Linked DNA regions of Homo sapiens: region 2 is linked to region 1. Evidence: promoter capture Hi-C in 16 types of primary human blood cells and fetal thymus (Javierre and others, 2016). All regions are on one chromosome and are shown on one strand. Each heading gives the region's core, a stretch centred on a gene start or on the middle of the fragment in contact. The rest is flanking DNA. Distances are from core to core; before and after follow the strand shown.

Region 1 (4,911 bases), core at 2,412-4,911:
GGGTTTCACCATGTTGGCCAGGCTGGTCTCGAACTCCTGATCTCATGATCCGCCCTCCTCAGCCTCCCAAAGTACTGGGATTATAGGCGTGAGCCACCGCGCCCGGCCAATACTGGTTCTTTGGTGATATGATTATGAGTGTGTTTTCTTTCTTTTTAATTTTTTTCCCACATCAATCATACATGGCTTTTGTTGTAAGACAATTATTTTTAAAAATTGAATAAAATTAAGAGGAATGACTTAGGGATAGCTCTGGGAATGAGAAGATGAGAGGATCAAGGATGGAACCTTGATCAATAGCCTTGATACCTCTGGCCCTGTGGCCCCTGTCCGTGCAGTTGACTATGTCTTGAGGGTGCCACCCATGTCATATCTGCTACATTGCTGCATGGTAGAATACAACGAGCAGACTGCTACAACTATGAGCTTTGGGCAAACTCATATATATATATATATATATATATAAATAATTTTATTTTATTTTTTTTGAGACAGAGTATTGCTGTGTTGCCAGGCTGGAGTGCAGTGGTGCAACCTTGGCTCACTGCAACTTCCACCTTCTGGGTTCAAGCAATTCTCCTGCCTCAGCCTCCCAAGTAGCTGGGACTACAGGCACACACCACCACGCCTAGCTAATTTTTGTATTTTTAGTAGAGACAGGGTTTCACCACGTTGGCCAGGATGGTTTCGATCTCTTGACCTCGTGATCCGCCTGCCTTGGCCTCCCAAAGTGCTAGGATTAGAGTCGTGAGCCACCATGCCCGGCCTTTTTATTTTTTATTTTTTTTTTGAGACAGAGTCTCATTCTGTCAACCAGGCTGGAGTGCAATGGCATGATCTCGGCTCACTGCAACCTCCACCTCCCGGATTCAAGTGATTCTCCTGCCTCAGCCTCCAGAGTAGGATTACAGGCTCACACCGCCACGCCCGGCTAATTTTTGTATTTTTAGTAGAGACGGGTTTCACCATGTTGGCCAGGCTGGTCATGAGCGCCAGACCTCAGATGATCTGCCTGCCTCAGCCTCCCAAAGTGCTGGGGTTACAGGCATGAGCCACCATGCCTGGCTGGACAAACTTTTTGATTCCCTAAGTCTGTTTTCTCATCTTTATAGTGGGGATAACCTTCCTCAGAATAGTTATCTGACAATAAAATGTTTACAGACATACAACAGTTGCTTAGTAAATATTAATTAGTCCATCCTCCCTTTCTTAGACATCCTTCCCTGCTAGACCCAGGTTTGACTTCCAGGCCCTTGTTTGGCCCTCACAGTGGGAAGTGACACCCCCTCTCTCTGAATGCCCGAGGTGCTGTTTGCACTTCTATTGAACCCAGAACTTTGCTCTGACCTAGAGATAGTGGCTAGCTCTTCTCCGTCACTGACTTGTTCGACTTGTTCCCGGTCTAGAGTTTGGTCATCTCTCTATCCTGGTAGCAACTAGCACAATGCTTTGTACATTGAGGGTTCTCTAGAATTTTTATTGACTAAATTCATGTTTTTTTTTACAACTTGGCTAATAGTGGAATACTCAAAGGCTGGATTACCCAAGGGTTAGTTTATTCTGACCTCTTGGAATTTTTCTCCTCCCAATTTGTAACTCTGGCAAGGTTTATCTTCCAGTCTGCAGAGATGACCAGCAGAGAGAGACAAAGAAGGAAGCTCACTTAGACCTCTAGGCTCCCTGTCAGAAGCTCTGGGGAGAGAGTTGGAGGATGAAGAAGGGGAAAGTAAAAGCTGTTTACCCCCAGGCTGGGTAGGAGTGTGGTCTCCCACCTCTCCAGGGTTTAGACTGTCAGAACTCCAGCAGGACAGCTTGGGGGCAAAGGGAATTGGGTAGACACATCATTCTACAGGCCTACGTCCTTTTTGCCTAGCAGTCGAATCCTTCTCTCCATTCCTGCCTCTTGTGGCTGGTGCTGTGTATCTAGCCATTTTCCCCTTCCCCTGCTTCCCCCCAAGTGGGCACGCCAGCTTGCTCAGGTGCCCATCCTTCCTGCTAACACCTTGTTAGGTTAGGGAGGCAGTCTGGCGCTGACGAAGGACCTTTGGGTGCCAAGTTAGTAGACCTGTGTGACCTATAGCAAGTTGAATAAGCTCCCAGAGCCTCAGTTTCTGCATCTATAAGCTGGGAATAGCTACACGGTCTCTGTCCTCTGTCTCATCCTAGGATTACTGACGGGAACCAAGTGAGATTTATGAGACTTTACGAACAGGCAAAGAGCGCTTTATAAAAGCCAGGTGTTTCCAGTGTTCACTGTGGGGCTTTCTCCTGGTAACTACCCACCAAAGCCTCCCTGTCCGCCCCGCCCCGGCTGCATCGGCCTCACCCACTGCATCACCATCTTTTCCATCACTGTCTTCCTGCGTCTCAGAAGTCCTGTTTCTGCATCTCCCCTGTCCATTTCCGGGTCTGGCTCTCCGGCCCCTGAGACCCCTCCAGGGACTCTGTTCTCCTTCTCCTTGAGGCACTCGCTGCCCAGGCGCCCCCCACCCGGTGCGCCCTCCTTTGGCACAGCCGCCGGGCCAGAGAATCGCCCAATAAGAGCGCCGGACTGTAGTCTGACAGCTCCGGAAGCGGCCAATCGAGCCGGGCCAGGGAAGGGGGGCGCAGCGCCGGGGCTGAAGTTGGGTTAAATGGGGGGAGGGGGATTAAAGGGGGATACAAAAGAGGGGAGCTAGGACTGGGGGCGCTGGAGCCCTGGCCGGGGGCGGGGGAAGACCGCGCTCCACCCAGGTCTGGTGACGGGACCGCAGGCTGGATGCGGCTCCTAGTCCCAGGGAGGGAGGGGCGCAGCGAGAATTTTAGGTGAGGAAGGGGAACTGGGGTGCCCGCGGCCAGGCCTGAGGATGCCCGCGGGGCGCCGAGGCTGGGGCCATGGCCAGGCCGGGGGCGGAGGCGGCCTCGCGCGGCTGTGAGCCGAGGCCCGGGCGGCGCGGGGGGCGGGGAGGCAGCGGGAGGAGGGGATGCGGAGGGCTCTCCGGCGGCGGCGAGCGGGCGAGAAGGGAGGAGCGGCGCGAGCGGCCGGAGCGGCGCAGGGCCCGAAGCGTGCATGGCGCGCCCTGAGCCGGGCTCCCGCGGGCCCCCCCGGAGCGCCTCTCGGGCGCCGCGGCTCTCAGGCGGGCCCCTCTGGGCCGGCTGCTTCTGAGCCCCGGCGCTGGATCTCTGGATGCCTTACTCCCCGGGAGAAGCCTGCCTGCGTCGGGGCAGAACCGCGGCAGCGCTGCGCCGGATTCCGTCCTCCGCCTAGTCGTTCCGCGCCGGCCGCGGTGGGCCCGCAGCCGGCGACGAGGAGCTTGGGGCTTGCGAAGCGGGCGCGACAGCTCTCCGGGCCGGCAGGTCCCGGCCGGCCCCGCTCCGTTTGCGGGAAAGGGAGAGGCGAGAGGGGAAGGGCCGCACCGCAGGAGCCGGTCCCTGACCCGGACCCCGCCCCCTGCGCGGACGCGCCGAAGGCTCGGCTCGGCTTTCGCCGGGGCCACGCATCCACTCTCGCCGCGAGAGGTGGGGGATGCGGGCAACGGCCCCCCCGGGCTCCAGGACCCTCCCCCCCGGGGCTCCGGAGCTGTTGCTCCGCCCGTCGCCCCCTCCCCCGTCCTCTCCACCTCCCATCCCACCTCCCCACCCCTCGTAAGAAAATAATGCTGGCTGGCGCCCGCACCTCCCAGTCGCTCCCAGTCCGCTGCGAGGAAAGCGCACCCGCAGTGTCTCTTCGCCGGGACCCCCGCCGAGCCGCCCTCGCCGCCGCCGAGCCCCGAGAGCAGCTGGGCTCCGCTTAGGCGGAATCAGCGAGCGCCGCGCCCGGGCACTGCCGGCCCGAGGAGGCACCGCCCGCAAGGACACCACTCCGTCCCGTCTCGTCCGCAACTCCGGCCCTCGTCGAGCTCGACGCGAGCCAGGATCCCGGACGTCTCTCCGCGTGCGGCGCAGCAGCAGCCAGACCAGTCCCTGCGACCCCACCTCGGAGGCAACTCCATTTCGGACCTGGGACTTCTGACGCGGATCCTCAGCTACTTCTCACCTCGGGGCTGTGCCCTCCTCCTCCGCTCAGGACGGGGGTGCCAAGATGCCCCGCTGCAGCGCAGGGCCCCGGGCCGCCCCCGACGTGTGACCCTAGCCTGGTCCCCCTGCTCGGCCGTCCGCCCTCCCCTTGGAGACCCCCGGCCCGGCTTCCGGGGGAGGAGGAAGGAGACGACGAGGCCGAGGGGGGGATGTCCGGCTCCAAAAGCGTGAGCCCCCCGGGCTACGCGGCGCAGAAGACTGCGGCGCCGGCGCCCCGGGGAGGCCCCGAACACCGCTCTGCGTGGGGCGAGGCCGATTCCCGCGCGAATGGCTACCCCCATGCCCCCGGGGGCTCTGCCCGCGGCTCCACCAAGAAACCCGGGGGGGCGGTGACCCCGCAGCAGCAGCAGCGCCTGGCCAGCCGCTGGCGCAGCGACGACGACGACGATCCTCCGCTGAGCGGTGACGACCCCCTGGCCGGGGGCTTCGGCTTCAGCTTCCGCTCCAAGTCCGCCTGGCAGGAGCGCGGCGGCGACGACTGCGGTCGCGGCAGCCGCCGGCAGCGGCGGGGCGCGGCCAGCGGGGGCAGCACCCGGGCGCCCCCTGCGGGCGGCGGCGGCGGCTCGGCGGCGGCGGCTGCCTCGGCGGGCGGGACGGAGGTGCGCCCTCGCTCGGTGGAGGTGGGTCTGGAGGAGCGGCGGGGCAAGGGGCGCGCGGCCGACGAGCTGGAGGCCGGCGCCGTCGAGGGCGGCGAGGGGTCCGGGGATGGCGGCAGCTCGGCGGACTCGGGCTCGGGCGCGGGGCCCGGCGCGGTGCTGTCCCTGGGCGCCTGCTGCCTGGCGTTGCTGCAGATATTCCGCTCCAAGAAGTTCCCGTCGGACAAACTGGAGCGGCTGTACCAGCGCTACTTCTTCC
Region 2 (4,911 bases), core at 1,200-3,699, 120 kb after region 1:
AGCCATGTGAGGATCCTGTGCCGTGTGAGGCCCTTGCACTTCCGGGGCCTCATGTTTCCTACAGACACCCAGCCAGGCATCGAACTGCTGGTTCCACTTCTTCCCAGATGTGAAAGGTTGGGCTCATAGGGGTTAGACAACTCCCCAGGGTGCTACTACCAGGCAGGCGGATTCAAATGCAGGTGTTCCGCTTAGAGAGAATCACCCTGCCTGTGAGCCATAGCAAAAAGGCACTTTGGCCAATTCATGGCTATCACTGGCCACAGAAGGAGCCCTGGTCATTGAAAAACATGGGTGGTGCAAGCTTATGTGACAGCCAAGGGAGCAAGTCAGAGACTTTGGGCTTTAGAAATAGCTTGGGCAGGGGCAGAGAAAAAAGGCACAGAGGGCAAGGTCAGAGGCGGGAGTGGCTGCCAGGAAGGCAGCCGGGTCCGTTGGTTTGGCTCAGTTCTACTTGCAGCACTTGCCAAGTGTCCCCAGCAAGCCTGAGCTAGACAATCAGTCTCCCCGGAAGCACAGAGCCTTAAGGGAGAGAGACCAGGACTCCTGGTGCTCAGATACAAGGCACGTCATGTGGACACGGCGAGGTAAGGGAGGCAGACTATTGAAGGAGGGCCCAGGAGGGGACAGTTGATTCCACTGAGAGGATCAAGAGAGTTTGCCTGAAGGAGGTGGCCGTGGAGTTAAGCCAAAAAGACAGAATGAGCCATTGTCAAGCTAAGCAAGTATCCAAAGGCACTGTGGATGGAAAGTATTTCAGTGAAGGTATTCTGCTGCAGTGGAGGTATTTACCAAGTTGATTCAGGACAAGAGAAATGATGGGTGACCTCAGTCTCCCCTGCAGTGGGTGTCAGCCTCTTGCTGATGGCGTGGGATGGGGTCAGGGAGTCTCAGTGGTGGTCCCACCCACTGGGGCAAGTCAGACTGCTGGTCCCCTGGCTAGCTGAGTGCGCCCATGCCCCAGGTGTTAGGGAGGGTCTAGGGCCCTAGAAAGTGCAATCTGAGTTCATCCATTACCCTACTTCCTGGCACCTGCACCCTCTCCTGCAGATGCTGGGCAGGTTCCCATGGGCCTCAGACATGCACCTGGAGATGTATGGCTTCCTTCCCAGTCTGCCTCCACTGCTCGCCCAGCATGAGGAGTTATAAGTGCATACGGAGGGCCTGCCCTGTCTACTGGGAGCTCCCAGATATGGATATGTGGTGCATGTGGCCGGGACCAAGCTTTCCTCTAGGGCATGGAGCACCCTAAGCCCCTGCACCTGCCCAGGCTCCCCTTCCCTCCTGAGCAGGCCATACCCTTGAAACCTGGGTAACCAGCTTTTGCCATCACCCTGCTAACATCTTGGAAGCAGCAGTGTGGATAAATCCAATAAAAAGATAATCCAAAAGCCATTTCTGTCTTACCCACAAGAGCATTATACAAATAGGGTTTGGAGTGGTGGTAACTTCCCTGTTTAATTCAAGTCGGCCCTAACGTGCATTTGCATTTTTCCAATCACAATTTAATTGACAGGGCAGTGCTGGCCAGAGGTGCCCTCCTGGAGGGGAAGCAGCAGGGCTCTAGGTTTTAGTGTGGCACCGCGCCACCTTGTGGCCAGGCCGGGAACAGCCCCTTTCACAGCCGACTGCACCTGCCGCCCGCCCCAGTGCCCTTCAGGCTGAACGTTCTTGGACTCTAGGGCTGGATGGGAGAGAGAAGACTCTTTGACCCCCGCACCTTCACCTTCCCTGCACCTGCAGCCTCACCCCCATTCTGTGTGCCTGGCCTCCAGCCTTCTCCCAGCTTTACTCCTGCTCCATCCCCAGGTTGGTCCGGGAGGTGACAGGGGTGAACGTGAACATGCGTGTGGGAATTCACAGCGGGCGAGTACACTGCGGTGTCCTTGGTCTCAGGAAGTGGCAGTTCGACGTCTGGTCTAACGATGTCACGCTAGCCAACCACATGGAGGCTGGCGGCAAGGCAGGGTGAGTGACAGCTGTGGGTGGCTTGGGGCCCCGACCTGGGTTCCCACTCAAGCCCACCCAGGGTGACCATCCTGCAGAGGCGAGGCGGGGCAGGGTGGGGTGGGCAGGATGGGCAGCAAGCACCTGTGGGGGCGCTGGGGTGAGCACAGTGGAAGTAGAAATTCCTCTACTTGCCAAATCACCTGTGCCACCGTTGGCCAGTTGTGGGAGCATTATGTCACCCTTCCCTGAGCCTTGACCCAGAAGATATTGACCCAAACCATGGTGGCTGGTGAGGTGTGATAGACAGAGTTCTGGAGGAGGGAGGAATCACAGATAGTTTCTGGGATGGCTAGACCATAAAGGAGGCAGGACTGGGAGGGGTGAGGAAGGTGGGGTGGGAAGAGCCTGCTGCTAGGCGGAGGGAACACAGCGAGGCAAGGCACAGGTGTGGGGGACACAGCATTTCCAAGGAATGGGAGAAGAGCCGATGGCCTTTTAGGGACGGCTAGGAGAAACAGCGCCTGTGTTCAGAAGGCATGAGTGCCAGGCTCGTGAATTTGGACTCCGTCCTGTCGCGTGCAGGAGCCATTGCTGGCTTCTGAGCAGGAGTGAGAGGCTTGCAAAGTTTGCAAGACTGGAGGCCATGTTGTCTTGGGCAAGCTAATGTAGTGGTCTGTGCCAGGATGTTCAGTGTGAGACAGTGTGGTTGCAGTGGGCATGAGAGCCCACTTGATAGTAATGGAGGGTACCATGCAAGGTTGAGGTTAGGATTTGAGCAGAGCTTGGGGCCCTAGGGTTTGAATTGTGGTGAACCCACTAATTGCAGTTTGGTTTTTCACGGGGGCTGACATTATGACTTTGAGTTTTCTGCCCTCTCCACCCTGATCCCTGCCCCCCTGTAGACGCATCCACATCACCAAGGCTACACTCAACTACCTGAATGGGGACTACGAGGTGGAGCCAGGCTGTGGGGGCGAGCGCAACGCCTACCTCAAGGAGCACAGTATCGAGACCTTCCTCATCCTGCGCTGCACCCAGAAGCGGGTCTGTGGGCTGGGGGCCGGGGGGCTGAGGGGCTCCCTTCCTCCAGGGAGGAACATTTTCGTGACCTGCTGCTTCCTTCTCTTTCCTTGAGTGAAGTCATGAATTTCTTATGCAGTTGCGGTTCCTGCATCTTAAAAAGGACCCCGGCAGTTAGGCCTTGCAAAAAGGATGGTAAAGAGGGAATCTTTTAATAGTGCTTCTTTTGCAAAAATGCAACAGGCCTCAAATCAGTTAGCAACAAGACATCAGAAGTCCACAAGCTGGAAATCAGCATCAAGGGAGTCTGTGGATACCGTATATTTTATCTCCATCTCTCTCCTTTTCATTTGCCTTTTACTGGGGTGGACACTTGCCCTAATCTCTCTCTCTCTGATCCATAGATCGGTGTCCATCTCCACATGTGCCTATGTCTTTGTTTCTTGAACCTATTTTCCCCTTTCCCTTTCTAGTCTGTTTCTTTTTCCCCCTTTGTCTCAGCCCACACTTGCTGAAATATAAAGCTAAATTATTAGCAGACTTCAGTGTTCTATTTTTAATAGTGTCATGTTCCATGCTCTTAATTTTTAAAGCAAATCAAGAGAACATTTTCTATTTCTCCCTAAACTAAAATGCCTTTTACTTATGAGTCTTTCTGTGGAATTTATCTGCCAGTCAGTGCCCTTTGATAGAGAAAAGCTTCCCCATTTCTCTTCCTAAGAAGTGAAACGAAAGACAAAATTAGTCTGTGAGAAGAGTTCAGAGAGTCTTGGATGACAGCAAAGGTGATTTTTAAAGGGAGGCAGGCAGGGCTGTTGAGGGCAGGTGCCCGTGCCAAGAGGGACATCAGAGGGACACCTTATCCTACCATGCAGTACCCCAGGGGACAGATCCTGGCTCGGGGGCCCTTCATGGGAGCTGTGTCAGACCCTCCACAGGCACCAGGAAGAGGGATGGGGGATTCAGGGCCCTGTGGGGACAGCTCCTCATGGTTTCCTTGACACGTTTGTAAGCGTTGGCCAGTTCCTTGGCCATAGTATCAATGAACTGGGTCCTCCAGGCTCTTTACCCACATCTCTCAGTGCCTGGGTCACAAGGCCTCCCGCAGCTTCCTGCCCTAGACCCTGAGTTCCCTGGCTCTTGGTTCTTTTAGCTGGACAAGCGGTCCAAAAAGGATGAAATGGAGACAGAAAGAGTAACAGGCACCCCCACCAGCAATGTCAGCTGAAGCAGGCTGTGTCCCCACCGTCACCTCATCTGACAAGGGAGGGAGTTGAGGGGAGGGTTGCCTCAGGTCTCTAGCTCTCTTGCACCCATTTGGATGGATAGACAGACAGACAGATAGATGAGATCCTGGGGAGTGTGTTGGCCCATAGATAGCTGACTGAGACTCTGTGTATTTGTACAATGCCTGTCAGCTCTTGAATCTCATAACTTCACTGACCCAAACCTCTTTGGAAGTGGCCTCTTGGGCCCCGGGCCGTGTCCTAGTGCCCTCTCTGTTGTAGCATATTTTGGAGAAGTTGAGCAGAGGTTGTGATCCCAGGTCTCCTCTCCCTCCGGTACCCCCTGGGCAACTTCAGATCAGGCCCCACCCACCCTTGAGGCTGTAGCTAGAGCCCTACCCTGGCCTGCCCATGAGCAAAGCCTGATGTGACACCACAGCCTGCCAGGGACCAAGTTGGGAGGCTTAGGTATGAGTTGGCCTGGCTGCCTGGGAGACCCAAGCTCAGCCCTCGCTGATCACCCTGCCCCACAGAGTAGGGGGAGGAAGCACAGTGCGGGCAGCTGGGTGCGTCAGCTCAGGCCTTTCGGAGCCTAGGCCATCCAGAGGAGAGAAGGGCACCCAGGATAGAATCTTACAGTCGAACTTACAGGGAGAACTCCTTGCAAATGGCAGATGTTCCCAAGCTCTTTGCTTTCTCACAAGACCAACTCTCA

What was found. Contacts are between HindIII fragments. The CHiCAGO score rates a contact against its expected background, and 5 or more counts as called.
Region 2: a fragment that was not itself captured here is called in contact with the fragment with the promoter of ADCY5 in region 1 in 1 of 17 cell types (megakaryocytes); the score reaches 5.7 in megakaryocytes.

The regions. Positions count from the first base shown.
Region 1 is chr3:123,447,840-123,452,750 of GRCh38, reverse strand. It overlaps ADCY5 (adenylate cyclase 5), which reads left to right and starts at 3,661. Exons shown (of 21, transcript NM_183357.3): 1 at 3,661-4,911. The coding sequence starts at 4,206. RefSeq lists an enhancer at 4,600-4,911. The HindIII fragment of the contact is 9,434 bases long and covers 1-4,911 here.
Region 2 is chr3:123,325,701-123,330,611 of GRCh38, reverse strand. ADCY5 (adenylate cyclase 5) reads left to right here. Exons shown (of 21, transcript NM_183357.3): 6 at 1,810-1,968; 7 at 2,853-2,994. Among named protein-coding and RNA genes, the nearest start is that of ADCY5, 120 kb to the left of the region's middle. RefSeq lists enhancers at 1-41, 1,263-1,762, 1,763-2,264. The HindIII fragment of the contact is 2,445 bases long and covers 1,227-3,671 here.